Regions from separate parts of the Homo sapiens genome. Here regions 2, 3, 4 and 5 are each linked to region 1. Evidence: promoter capture Hi-C in 16 types of primary human blood cells and fetal thymus (Javierre and others, 2016). All regions are on one chromosome and are shown on one strand. The core of a region is centred on a gene start or on the middle of the fragment in contact, and the rest is flanking DNA. Distances in the headings are between cores, read along the strand shown. Region 1 holds the start of C1orf220 (chromosome 1 putative open reading frame 220). Region 2 overlaps RALGPS2 (Ral GEF with PH domain and SH3 binding motif 2). Region 3 overlaps RALGPS2 (Ral GEF with PH domain and SH3 binding motif 2). Region 4 overlaps RALGPS2 (Ral GEF with PH domain and SH3 binding motif 2). Region 5 overlaps RALGPS2 (Ral GEF with PH domain and SH3 binding motif 2).

Region 1 (2,626 bases), core at 38-2,537:
GAGAATCGCTTGAACCTGGGAAGCAGAGGTTGCAGTGAGTCGAGATGGCGCCACTGCACTCCAGCCTGGGCCACAGAGCGAGACTCCGTCTCAAACAAACAAACGACAACAACAAAATGCAAACTCTGGCCAGGCGCGGTGGCTCATGCCTGTAATCCCAGCACGTTGGGAGGCCAAGGTGGGCGTATCACTTGAGGTCAGGAGTTCAAGACCAGCCTGGCGAACATGGTGAAACCCCATCTCTACTAAAAATACAAAAATTAGCCAGGTGTGGTGTCATGCACCTGTAGTCCCAGCTACTCAGAAGGCTGAGGCAGGATAATCGCTTGAACCTGGAAGACAGGTTGCGGTGAGCACAGATCGCGCCACTGCACCCCAACCTGAGCGACAGAACAAGACTTCATAAAAAAAAAAAAAACCCCACGCAGATTGCAGATTCCTGGGCCCCATCTTCGCCTTTCTGAATTGCAGCCTTTCACCCTTTAAGAATGAGAGGGTGAAATCTGCACGTCATACAAATAGCCCAGGGGCTATTAATCTGATGTTGCTCCCCAGCTCCCTCCAACACCGTCAGAGGGTGCACGGATTAGGCCTCTGCTGCGTGCAGAGAAGCATCCTAGGTGCTGCGTGGCTGTGCCAAAGCAGCAGAAACCGGTGGTGTGCCTTAAGATGCATGCTCCAAAGCTGTCCACAAGGCCTCTGGTACAGGCTTCCAGGTCTACGTCTCGGCTTCCCCGACAGTGTCCATGCGACACTGTCACCAGTTTCTCCTCTCACAAGCAGAAAATCAAATTCGGATTGGGCAAATGATTCCCTGCCCGGGTGTGGAATAAGGGTCAAGTCCTAAGTATGGAGAGAGAGCGCCGGCTCCCGCCAGGATATGCGAAGCTCTGGAGGGGAGGCCAAGCCACCAGGCACCCGGCGGGAGAAGAGGAGGCTGGAGAGCGCCGCCCAGTGCCTGCAGGCCGGGCGCTCCACGCCTCCCCTCCCTCCTGCACACCCCATTCCCCTCCGGTTGCCCCGCCTGGGAAGCCCCCTCCCCACACCTCCCGGCCCAGCATCTGCACGAGAGCCGCGAGCCCTGGCCCAGAGCTCTGGGTGGGCCTCTCACCCCAGACGGCGGCCGCAGCCCGTCCCTGATCACCGGCCGCCTGAGCCCTCCGTTCGCTCGGCGCGAGCGCCGCCACCCGTCCTTACCCCCATCCAGTCCGAGGCCAGCCCCGTAGGCTCCGAGCCTGCTCCGTGAAAAGCCTTTTCCCCAGGAGGAGAGTTACTGTAAAGCAAGAGGAAGCCGAGAAGAGGCGGTGGCTGCAGCGCGCGGGGCCCGGCGGGGGCGCGGGGGCGTCGGGGTACTGACTGGGCAGCGCGGTTTCCCCTCATCCCGGGACACGGTGCGGCGCTAGCGCCACCCAGCGGGCGCGGTGGGAATTGCGCTCCCTTCCTGCGCTGGGGCTCTGGACACACAGGCGACCAAGAATGACGCCTGCAGCCGGATAAACGCTCGGGGCAAGGCCGCTATCATCCCTCTGCCGGGAGTGAGTCAAGTCTCAGCAAAAGAAGAAGCCACTTTGGCCAAAATTCCAAGAGTGCTGATGAAGACGGTGACATCTGACATTTCAATGGCACTTTCCATTTCCCCCGGGGTGCGCATTCCGGGCCAGTGGAGCGCTGCGTCGCCTGTGCAGGACCTGGAGGTCTGCAGGACTGTGACCAGTCGGAGTCTCGGAGTCGTGGGTTAAACATTAGTCGGGAGCACTCGTTCATTCCCTGAGCTCCCCTTGCCCTTCACCCTTCGGTCCCGGAAGCCGGAAGGGAGACTGCCCCGCCCCTTGCCTGCCGCCCAGTGGCTCTCCCGGGGCCCTCTTGGCCCCTCTCTCCCAGCCCTCCATACAGTGAAGGGTTGTTTCCGCTGGTGACTTCCACCTGTGGGAGCAGAGAAAGGAAGCGGGGCAGAGGAGAAGGGGAAGGTGTCAGGCGATTCCCCTCCTTGCGCTGCAAGCCGGGTGGGAATAGAACACCTGCAGCCCTCCCCGGCGCCCTGCGAATGAGGTGGGAGTGGGAACGCCATCAGGGCAGAGCCCCTCCAGCTGGCTGGGGTCTGCACCTCCTCGCCAGCCCGGCCACCTCAAAACGGTGCTTGCCTCCCTGCGGGGGTGTAGAAGCCTCTTGGAGCAGCACTTGTAGAAAATCAAGTCCCTGGAAAGAAGCAAAATTAATCCGTTTGTTTCTCTATTTATTTTTGCTTCCCCACACCAGGTATTCACTTCATCCAAGGCTGCCCAATGTCACCTTCCACCCAGAGGAATCTCCCCTCTCCACCCCAGGCCAACAGCCTCTGCCTTCAGCTGTGGCCTCCACTCTGGCATTACTCTGGGCAGAGGGCTCAGGAGGGCTCAAGGAGGACCAGTGACATTCAGAGTGGCCAGAGTAAAGGGAGGGAGGGGGAGTGGTGGGAGAGGCGTGCAGAAGGCACAGGTGAGGTGGCGGAGGGGGGCAGGTGGTGGGGGGAGCGGGCTGGGGTGGGATGGGCCTGTCAGCATAGCAAGGGCTGTGATGGGCTTGAGTCTGACAGGGGGCAATGACCTGACCTACGGTTTTGTAAGATCACTCTGGCTGCCACCTGGAG
Region 2 (2,626 bases), core at 56-2,555, 320 kb before region 1:
TGTTTGAGAATGTAATAATACACCTGACAAGCTGCAATCAATGAAATTCTTAACTATTAATGTTATTTGGTGCCTGCATTTTGGGTTAGTCTTTTATTAAAAAAAATTACTCTTTTACAAATAGCGTATTTATAAAAACAAGTTTATTCCTTGTAGGAGAGCTGAGTGGAGAAAGTTCCTTCACCATGTGTAAAAGCATAGATCTGAGTATCAGTAAACTTGGATTCTGGCAAAGCTTTCTGGGGTCCAGTTGCCTCTTTTGTAAAATAAATTGTTGTGATGATTAAATGAGGGGGTACAGGTAGAAGTGCTTTGTGTAGCCGAGACGGGTGGATCACGAGGTCAGGAGATCGAGACCATCCTGGCTAACATGGCGAAACCCCGTCTCTACCAAAAATACAAAAAAATTAGCCAGGCGTGGTGGCGGGCGCCTGTAGTCCCAGCTACTTGGGCGGTTGGGGGGGGGGGGGCGGGCAGAGGCAGGAGAATGGCATGAACCCGGGAGGCAGAGCTTGCAGTGAGCCGAGATCGCGACACTGCACTCCAGCCTGGCGACAGAGCGAGACTCCGTCTCAAAAAAAAAAAAAAAAAAAAAGTGCTTCGTGTATGATGTGGCATGGTTTGACCACCATTAATCATTGCATATTTTGTACACTTCCCTTTATGTGTCTTTCCTTGTCATATTAGGTATATGAGGACATAAATGGTAAGCTTAAAAAGTTAAAACTTCGTAGTGGCGGGCGCCTGTAATCCCAGCTACTTGGGAGGCTGAGGCAGGAAAATTGCTTGAACTCGGGAGGCGGAGGTTGCAGTGAGCCGAGATCGTGACACTGCACTCCAGCCTGGCGACAGAGCGAGACTCCGTCTCAAAAAAAAAAAAAAAAAAAAAGTTAAACTTGGAAAGTAGTCATTAGAAACTAAAAATATGCTTTTTAGTGGTAGGCTTATTTTAAATCACCAAATATTTACATTTTTCAAATTATTTATAATGCTTCTTAATATACTTTTTAGGTATAATTGGTTTCAATGGAATACTTATACTAACATTTAATACAAAACAAAAAAACTAGTTAAGCCAAGGTGCTGTTGGAAAATGACTGTATTAGCCAGTTATGAGAACGTAATTGATAAATTCTTTAATAATTAAAAGTTTGGGTTGCTAAATACAGTTTAAACATACAGATTAATAAACTAAGTAATTCATATTATTACAGAAAGACCCTACTGTCACTTCAGAAAGTATTTGTCTCAAACTTCCCACTCCAGAAATGTTGAATATATTTAACTGAAAGTTAATGCACAACCCAACTGAAAAGTTTACCTCTCAAAAGATCCTACTTGGTAACCAATAATTTGAAAGCTCTGAATTGGTTTACTGTTTCTCCTGTCATAAAAAGGATTCTCTTTGTAATCTGTAATTCTCTTTGTAAAAGCTCTTTTTACAGAAAAAGAACACATATGTTACAGATGGCTCCCAGTAAAGCTGCTATTCAAAGTGTGAAATCCTTTTTTCTTTTTTAACTCACTGTTCTATTCAAAATATGGGTTCTTAATAAATACACCTTGGGAAATAATGTGGCATGACTGGTCAACATTTTTCTTTCTATAAATCAGAGGTATTAATATGGTTTCATTAGCCCTATGTAAACTTTAATCCTCACATAAATTGAGGAACAGAGAGACTGGTTCTTCAAATTCAATGTACAGAATTCCAGTTGCCTGCTTTGAGAAGACTCTTGCAAAAAATAGTTGATACTATGCTTAGTTTAAAAGAAAGGTAATTCCAGTTTATACCTTTTGAATCATCATGAACAAATTCCTGATTCACAGATCAATCAATTTATTTCTGAAAATATGCAAACCTGTGAATTAAATCTGGCTTCTCAAGAATAAAGCTTAAAATTTTCTATTTGTCATTAATTTCTTTCAAGCAATGTTCTTTATGGTACAGAAAAAGCAGTGAAAACATTTAAGATAGGGACAATAGAGAATCTAATTTTAGGGCAGAAAGTAAATAAGATTTTCAAGTAATAATGAGAAAATATTTCTGCTAGGATCAACAATATACACTGGACTAAGACAGGTTAATGGTATGTTTATAAAAATAAATACAAATAAATATTGAATTCTGATATCTAATATCTTTACTGAGGAGAAAAAAATAGCTTTAGGCACTGCTAAATTTTATCCATATGTTCTGGAAAAGAACTTCAACTACATTTCCCTAAGTCTAACAGATATCCAACTGTAAACACAAAGCCCACTGCAAAACATGGGTTGAAAATTAAAGCTGAAGATAATCTTAAATTTGCATAATTGAAGTCTTATGAAATCAAAGCTGGATTCAGAAAACCAGAACTCTCTATTTTGCTTTAAACATCTGAGTGTCTATTAAATAGCAAAAAATGAGTATAGCTCTATGGAACAAATGATACTTGACAAATATTCTGTCAACATTCAGAACACTGATGTTTCTAAATATTCTGCAGCAAAGCAAATAACCTAATAAAAGTCCAACCTTTGAATATATACTTAAATGTAAACTGTCAAAACTATACTCAAATGAATGCAGAGTAAACATTTACGAAAATGATATTCATAGAATAAGCAATAAGCATAACATTTA
Region 3 (2,626 bases), core at 64-2,563, 300 kb before region 1:
CCAATTTGCATAATGAGTTTTACCTTTTAATTGTTCTTAGGGCAACTTCTATCAAATGTACAGCATTTATAAATGCTGAAGTTTTTGTCAACTGTACTAAGCCTCCCTTCACATGAATAGAAAAGGATTCTGAATCAAAACCATGTATGTTTTAATAGATTAAATACATTTAATCTAACGGTTTGCTATAAGGCAAAGCAGTCATTACATTAAAAGGATGATTTTCATACTGGAAACGAACTAAACTGAGTCATAAAAACTCATCTGACAAATGTTTCATTTTCCTTTCCCATGTCTACCAAATATTTATGCCCAGGAGTCCACAATAATCTCACAATCAAGATGCTTCTTCACATACCCAGATAGGGATGAACTATATGAAGAATACCAGTATCTAAAATTATGCAGATGCTATAGTGTATGTTCTTAATTTCCTTCTGTTTTTTTTTCCCTTTTTGGTTTCTTTCTTTCTTTTTTTTTTTTTAATTATACTTTAAGTTTTAGGGTACATGTACACAATGTGCAGGTTTGTTACATATGTATACATGCGCCATGTTGGTGCACTGCACCCACTAACTCGTCATCTAGCATTAGGTATATCTCCCAATGCTATCCCTCCCCCCTCCCCCCACCCCACCACAGTCCCCAGAGTGTGATATTCCCCTTCCTGTGTCCATGTGATCTCATTGTTCAGTTCCCACCTATGAGTGAGAATATGTGGTGTTTGGTTTTTTGATCTTGCGATAGTTTACTGAGAATGATGATTTCCAATTTCATCCATGTCCCTACAAAGGACATGAACTCATCATTTTTTATGGCTGCATAGTATTCCATGGTGTATATGTGCCACATTTTCTTAATCCAGTCTATCATTGTTGGACATTTGGGTTGGTTCCAAGTCTTTGCTATTGTGAATAATGCCGCAATAAACATACGTGTGCATGTGTCTTTATAGCAGCATGATTTATAGTCATTTGGGTATATACCCAGTAATGGGATGGCTGGGTCAAATGGTAATTCTAGTTCTAGATCCCTGAGGAATCGCCACACTGACTTCCACAATGGTTGAACTAGTTTACAGTCCCACCAACAGTGTAAAACTGTTCCTATTTCTCCACATCCTCTCCAGCACCTGTCGTTTCCTGACTTTTTAATGATTGCCATTCTAACTGGTGTGAGATGGTATCTCATAGTGGTTTTGATTTGCATTTCTCTGATGGCCAGTGATGGTGAGCATTTTTTCATGTGTTTTTTGGCTGCATAAATGTCTTCTTTTGAGAAGTGTCTGTTCATGTCCTTCGCCCACTTTTTGATGGGGTTGTTTGTTTTTTTCTTGTAAATTTGTTTGAGTTCACTGTAGATTCTGGATATTAGCCCTTTGTCAGATGAGTAGGTTGCAAAAATTTTCTCCCATTTTGTAGGTTGCCTGTTCACTCTGATGGTAGTTTCTTTTGCTGTGCAGAAGCTCTTTAGTTTAATTAGATCCCATTTGTCAATTTTGTCTTTTGTTGCCATTGCTTTTGGTGTTTTGGACATGAAGTCCTTGCCCATGCCTATGTCCTGAATGGTGATGCCTAGGTTTTCTTCTAGGGTTTTTATGGTTTTAGGTCTAACGTTTAAATCTTTAATCCATCTTGAATTGATTTTTGTATAAGGTGTAAGGAAGGGATCCAGTTTCAGCTTCCTACATATGGCTAGCCAGTTTTCCCAGCACCATTTATTAAATAGGGAATCCTTTCCCCATTGCTTGTTTTTCTCAGGTTTGTCAAAGATCAGATAGCTGTAGGTATGCGGCGTTATTTCTGAGGGCTCTGTTCTGTTCCATTGATCTATATCTCTGTTTTGGTACCAGTACCATGCTGTTTTGGTTACTGTAGCCTTGTAGTATAGTTTGAAGTCAGGTAGTGTGATTCCTCCAGCTTTGTTCTTTTGGCTTAGGATTGACTTGGCAATGCGGGCTCTTTTTTGGTTCCATATGAACTTTAAAGTAGTTTTTTCCAATTCTGTGAAGAAAGTCATTGGTAGCTTGATGGGGATGGCATTGAATCTGTAAATTACCTTGGGCAGTATGGCCATTTTCACGATATTGATTCTTCCTACCCATGAGCATGGAATGTTCTTCCATTTGTTTGTATCCTCTTTTATTTCCTTGAGCAGTGGTTTGTAGTTCTCCTTGAAGAGGTGCTTCACATCCCTTGTAAGTTGGATTCCTAGGTATTTTATTCTCTTTGAAGCAATTGTGAATGGGAGTTCACTCATGATTTGGCTCTCTGTTTGTCTGTTGTTGGTGTATAAGAATGCTTGTGATTTTTGTACATTGATTTTGTATCCTGAGACTTTGCTGAAGTTGCTTATCAGCTTAAGGAGATTTTGGGCTGAGACAATGGGGTTTTCTAGATATACAATCATGTCGTCTGCAAACAGGGACAATTTGACTTCCTCTTTTCCTAATTGAATACCCTTTATTTCCTTCTCCTGTCTAATTGCCCTGGCCAGAACTTCCAACACTATGTTGAATAGGAGTGGTGAGAGAGGGCATCCCTGTCTTGTGCCAGTTTTCAAAGGGAATGCTTCCAGTTTTTGCCCATTCAGTATGATATTGGCTGTGGGTTTGTCATAGATAGCT
Region 4 (2,626 bases), core at 54-2,553, 280 kb before region 1:
AACTCTTGGCACTATTGAAAGCTTATGCTGAATATCTGAACCTGGCTGGAGAATACATAACTCTGCTGACTGGTTTTACTTTAAATTCATGATTAAAAAAAAGTCTTAAGTAGATGGATCCTACATAAGGTCTATCAAACCTATTACGTTTTCTTAGTTAACACACTCTCACACTCTCCAGATGACTTTTATATCCTCTCTTCTTTCTTCAAATCTCCAACACCTCTCCCATACCACCTTAACTAAAGACCTTGCTTTTTTATGTCTGAGGAAACAAAACAATCAGAACTTCTAAGAATCCCACCACGAAATCTACCAACTTACCTGCATCTGTAACTAAATGTGTTCCCTTCCCTGCTGTTAAAATGGATAAACTATCTTTTCTTTTTTTTTCTTTTTTTTTGAGACAGAGTCTTGCTCTGTCGCACAGGCTGGAGTGCAGTAGCGCGATCTCGGCTCACTGCAAGCTCCGCCTCCTGGGTTCACGCCATTCTCCTGCCTCAGCCTCCAGAGTAGCTGGGACTACAGGCGCCCATCACCACGTCTGACTAATTTTTTTGTATTTTTAGTAGAGACGGGGTTTCACCGTTTTAGCCAGGATGGTCTGGATCTCCTGACCTTGTGATCCGCCCGACTTGGCCTCCCAAAGTGCTGGAGTTACAGGCATGAGCCACCACTGCACCCGGCGTAAAATGGATAAACTCTTACTGATACACTAGGGTACTAAATCTAATTCTCTTTCATCTCATCAAGCATATCACTGGTATAATTCCTCATTCTCTTGTCATTTTTTTAGTTCTACTAGATTATTGCCACCAACATAAAACATATTGCCATTGATGCCATTTCCAAAAACAAAACAAAATACAACAAATCTTTGGTCCCACATTCCCTTCCAGGTACCATATTTCTCTGCAAACCACACTGCAGCCCTTTACAGTAAAATTCCTCAAAAGCATTCTCTATACTTGCTGTCCCACTTCTTCATCACCATTCTCTCAACTCCAGTCAGTTTTTCACCCCATTCTCTACTGAAATCACTCTTCCCGAGGTCACCAATCCTTTCCAATTGTCAGGTCATCTCAAACTTTGCACCTTATTCAAATTATTAGTAGCATTTGACAAAGGTGATCAATTTTTATTGAAACATTTTCTTTACCTGACTGTGAAAAATGTGTCCTACCCGTAATTTCCTTTGTTGATTTCTCCTCATTTTTCCAATCTCTACTTGGGAATCCTGGAGGTTCCCAGGGCTTTTCATCTATGCTCCCTCCTTAGGTAATCCCATCTAGCTTCAAATAGTTTACATTGATGATTATAACAATCTCTCTCTAGCCCCAACCACTCCCTTAAACTTGTACATCTAAGTCTGACCTTACATTTCACATGGATGTTTACTAGCCAACTCAAACACAGTATGTGTAAAATAGAACCCCAGCCCACAATGGTCCTTCTCTATACCTCTCTGAATATAAGTAAACAGCACCTCCATTATCTGATTCATGCCACCTCTTTGAAATCATCTCCTACCACCGGGTACCTTCCTAGCTTATTCTACTGTCAACACTAACCACTCTGCCATTTGAATGTATCTGGGCCTTTTTACTTGTTATTACCTCTACTTGGAATTCTCTTCTCCCAGATATCCAAATAAATGGTTCCCTCAATTCCTCCAGGTCTCTACTGAACTGTCATTTATCAACAATTCTCTTACCATGTTACATAACACAGTACTGTCCTGCCTTCCTTTCTACTTTTCTTCAGAGCATTTATTGCTATTTATGTCATTTATTTATTTGTAATTTATTCTTCCCCAGCAGAATGTTAGCTGTATGAAAATGGAACTTTGTCTAGATCATTCACTATTAAATGTCAAGCAATTACAGAGTGCATAGCACAGTATGAAATATTTTAAAATACAAACCATCAAAAGTTTTATTCAGATAAATAATGAAGCTGTTACCAAATAAAAATTATTATTTTCCACAAAAATACATAAGGGAGGCAATGAAAATATCTTCAAGGAAAATAAAAATTAACTTCAGCAAAATCTACCTCATTACTAAACCAAATCATAAATAAAAGTATAGGACTGGGCGTAATGGCTCATGCCTGTAATCCCAGCACTTTGAGAGGCTAAGGCGGGAGGATCACTTGAGATCAGGCGTTCGAAAACAGCCTGGACAACACAGTGAGACCCCATCACTATAAAAACTTTTTAAAAAATTAGTTGGGCATGGTGGCATGTGCCTGTAGTCCAGTTACTTGGGAGGCTGAGGCTGGAGGATCCTCTGAGCCCAGGAGTTGGGGGCTGCAGTAAGCTATGATCGTGCTACACTCCAGCCTGGATGCAAAAAATAAAAATAGAATTTTTTTTTCACAGCGTATAATTCTTTTCCCTAAAACTTTAAAGATATAATTCATAACTGTATATTTATAATCATTTCCATTCCTCCATGAAATTCAAATTTTAAGAAAAGACAATAAGGCCATAATTATTAAAAAGAATTTTTAAAGAAAACCCTTCACACCAAGGTTTTTCTATAAAATAGAAAAGAGAAACATAAAAAGGATCACAAGCTTTTCCATACTAATGTTTTTCCAATATAGAAATCTACACTGGTTT
Region 5 (2,626 bases), core at 40-2,539, 260 kb before region 1:
TTAAATTAAATTAGAAACCAAAAAAAAAAAAAGGAATAGATTGAGTCAGGGGAAGATTGAGGAAACAGTTAAGATGATACTATAGTCCTTCAAGAAAAAAGTAATGTTCCCTCAACCAGGGCACTGTCAGTGGATATGGATACGATAGACTCAAGATACTCTGGAGGCAGACAGGACTTCATCAAGAATTGGACTCATGTGATGTAAGCTAAAAACGAAGTCTGCAGAAGTACTAAGATTCCAGGTTTCTGCTTTGAGCAACTGAGATAGGGAATACTGAGGGGAGAGATGACAATTATTTCTACACAGTAGATAAGGAGTGAATGCTGTGGAGATAAAAACTGCCTTTTTAAATCTAAAATTAGATCATATCTTTCAAGCTTGAAATTTCTGAAAGAAATAATGAAATGATAAAAAGCAATTCTATAGCAAAAATAAAAATTTCTGGATATTCAATTAGCCTAGCTATATGATCATTTTATATTATCTCCCTGTAAAAAAAGAAAACATTTAGTAGTAAAAATTATATTCACACAAAAATATTATGACAATGATACTGAAAACATCAAACTGCTAGAAACATTTTTGTTCTTTCCAAAATCACAGCATACATACACAACTACATAAAGATGTCATATTTTAGGATAAAATTCCTAAGATTAAATCCCTAAGTAACTGAATTCGTTTTTAGCCAATTACTATAATTACAAAACTTATATTAATGCTATAATCAAAGTGTCTATCAAATTAAACTTATCAAACCACTCAAAGTAGCCATTTGACAAAGAAGTCAAACTCCATTATAGACCTTTACACAAAAGGCTGATTTCATTTTCCTATTGTTAAGTAATGCTATAATTACAAATAATGAATATCCTTGCACCTCTTCTGACATTTCTGATTATTTCTTAAAAATATAGTCCTACAAGAAATCACGAGGTCAAAGAGTATGAACCTTTTCAAGGCTCTGCTACCTGTCAAACTGCCCTCCTGAAATACTGAATCATTTACACTCCCACGAGAAATGAATGTAAGTTTCACAACACTCTTATCAAAATGAGGTACATAGTTGACCCTTGAACAACATGGGTTTGAACTGTGTGGGTCCACTCATACACAGATTTTTTTCAAAAAATATTTTGGAAATTTTGTCTTGAAGATTTGCAACAATTTGAAAAAACTTGCAGACAAACCACATGGCTTGGAGTATCGAAAAATTAAGAAAAAGCTAGGGATGGCGTGAATGTATAAAATACTAGTCTATTTTATCATTTACTACCATAAAATACACACAAATGTATTTAAAAAAGTTAACATTTATCAAAATTTATGCACACCAACAGACCTTACATGCTGCCATATGCAGTCCAGAGAAATGTAACAAACATAAAGGTGCAATATTAAATCATAACTGCATAAAATTAACCATAGTACATACTGTTCTACTATAATAATTTTGTACCCACCTCGTGTTGCTCTTACAGTGAGTTTAAGTGTAGAGAGTATTCCCTTAAAACACCCTGTGATGACACTACTTATCTCCACATGAGCAGTTCCTATCTCCAGTAAATTGTATTATCACAGTAAAATGTGATTTCTCACGGTTCTCACGTTATTTTTCATCGTGTTTAGTGCAATATCCTAAACCTTGAATAACACCATGGGACCCATAAGAAGCACCACTAGAGATGCTGGAAGTGCTCCTAAGAAGCAAAGAAAAGTCATGACATTTCAAGAACAAGTTGCATTGCTTGATATGTACCATAGACTGAGGTCCTGCTGCCATTTCAGTCAATATATCTTATAAACAGACTATGTAAACTTATGATGTACAATACAGTACTGTAAATGTATTTTTCCTAATAACATTTTCTTTTTTCTAGCTTACTTTAAGAATATATTATATAATATATATAACATACAAACTATGTGTTAATCGACTGTTTATGTTATCAATAAGGCTTCCAGTCAATGGTAGGCTATGAGTAGTTGAGTTTTACCTGCAAATTTTCGACTTCTGGGAGCCTGGTGTTTCTAACTCCAGAGACATTCAAGGGTAAAGTGTAGTTCTGATTATTGTTGTATGAGATAGGCTAGTGATGTAACACTGTTTCATGGGGGAAATGTTTTCTGATACAGAAACTACCATCTTATGAGGTTCAAAAACATTTTCTCTTGTTTTCTAATTATAAGCTTCTTTAGAATGGAGGGCTTCAAACGGAATTTTAACCCAGCTGCTTCCAAAGAATGTGACTACACACCTCTCCCTCCCTCCCTCCCTCCCTTCTACCCATCAAGTCACCTTTTGTTAATTCCTCTGGTGTGGTGTTTATTAGCTCTTGAATTTCTCCAAGATCCATATCTCGAAACTCTTAGCTCCCTACCTTTTTTGCCATATCCACAATCTCTTTCATGATTTCCTTTCAGTCACCTTCCAACAGTTTTCCTCAAGTGACAAAGCATTTTTTCCATTAAATTAATGATGCAGAAATGTTCTAAGAATTGGACGGACTTTCCAAAACCTCTTGGCATTTATTTGAGGAGTCAGAAAAGTATTAAAAAATTTTTTTAATGTAAAAATGAAGCCACAATCCACCATACTTTTGTCTGGCTTCCTTATTTATCA

What was found. Contacts are between HindIII fragments. The CHiCAGO score rates a contact against its expected background, and 5 or more counts as called.
Region 2: a fragment that was not itself captured here is called in contact with the fragment with the promoter of C1orf220 in region 1 in 2 of 17 cell types (total B cells and naive B cells); the score reaches 14.5 in total B cells.
Region 3: a fragment that was not itself captured here is called in contact with the fragment with the promoter of C1orf220 in region 1 in 2 of 17 cell types (naive B cells and total B cells); the score reaches 13.9 in naive B cells.
Region 4: a contact is called between a fragment that was not itself captured here and the fragment with the promoter of C1orf220 in region 1, in 2 of 17 cell types (total B cells and naive B cells). The highest score is 26.1, in total B cells.
Region 5: a fragment that was not itself captured here is called in contact with the fragment with the promoter of C1orf220 in region 1 in 3 of 17 cell types (total B cells, naive B cells and monocytes); the score reaches 30.8 in total B cells.

What each region holds. Positions count from the first base shown.
Region 1 is chr1:178,541,457-178,544,082 of GRCh38, reverse strand. C1orf220 (chromosome 1 putative open reading frame 220) reads right to left here and starts at 1,287. Exons shown (of 3, transcript NR_033186.1): 1 at 1,198-1,287. LOC124904460 (a long non-coding RNA gene) reads left to right here and starts at 1,438. Exons shown (of 2, transcript XR_007066748.1): 1 at 1,438-2,049; 2 at 2,257-2,626. RefSeq lists silencers at 1,053-1,122, 1,153-1,482 and an enhancer at 1,533-1,592. The HindIII fragment of the contact is 17,585 bases long and covers 1-2,626 here.
Region 2 is chr1:178,857,665-178,860,290 of GRCh38, reverse strand. All of the region lies in intron 8 of RALGPS2 (Ral GEF with PH domain and SH3 binding motif 2), which reads right to left. All of the region lies in intron 3 of ANGPTL1 (angiopoietin like 1), which reads left to right. Among named protein-coding and RNA genes, the nearest start is that of ANGPTL1, 12 kb to the left of the region's middle. The HindIII fragment of the contact is 1,184 bases long and covers 714-1,897 here.
Region 3 is chr1:178,841,513-178,844,138 of GRCh38, reverse strand. The region is part of intron 8 of RALGPS2 (Ral GEF with PH domain and SH3 binding motif 2); the gene reads right to left. Among named protein-coding and RNA genes, the nearest start is that of ANGPTL1, 28 kb to the left of the region's middle. The HindIII fragment of the contact is 3,073 bases long and covers 1-2,626 here.
Region 4 is chr1:178,822,586-178,825,211 of GRCh38, reverse strand. The region is part of intron 7 of RALGPS2 (Ral GEF with PH domain and SH3 binding motif 2); the gene reads right to left. Among named protein-coding and RNA genes, the nearest start is that of ANGPTL1, 47 kb to the left of the region's middle. The HindIII fragment of the contact is 2,559 bases long and covers 24-2,582 here.
Region 5 is chr1:178,801,476-178,804,101 of GRCh38, reverse strand. All of the region lies in intron 4 of RALGPS2 (Ral GEF with PH domain and SH3 binding motif 2), which reads right to left. It overlaps LOC124904462 (a long non-coding RNA gene), which reads left to right. Exons shown (of 3, transcript XR_007066749.1): 2 at 921-1,030. Among named protein-coding and RNA genes, the nearest start is that of ANGPTL1, 68 kb to the left of the region's middle. The HindIII fragment of the contact is 1,813 bases long and covers 383-2,195 here.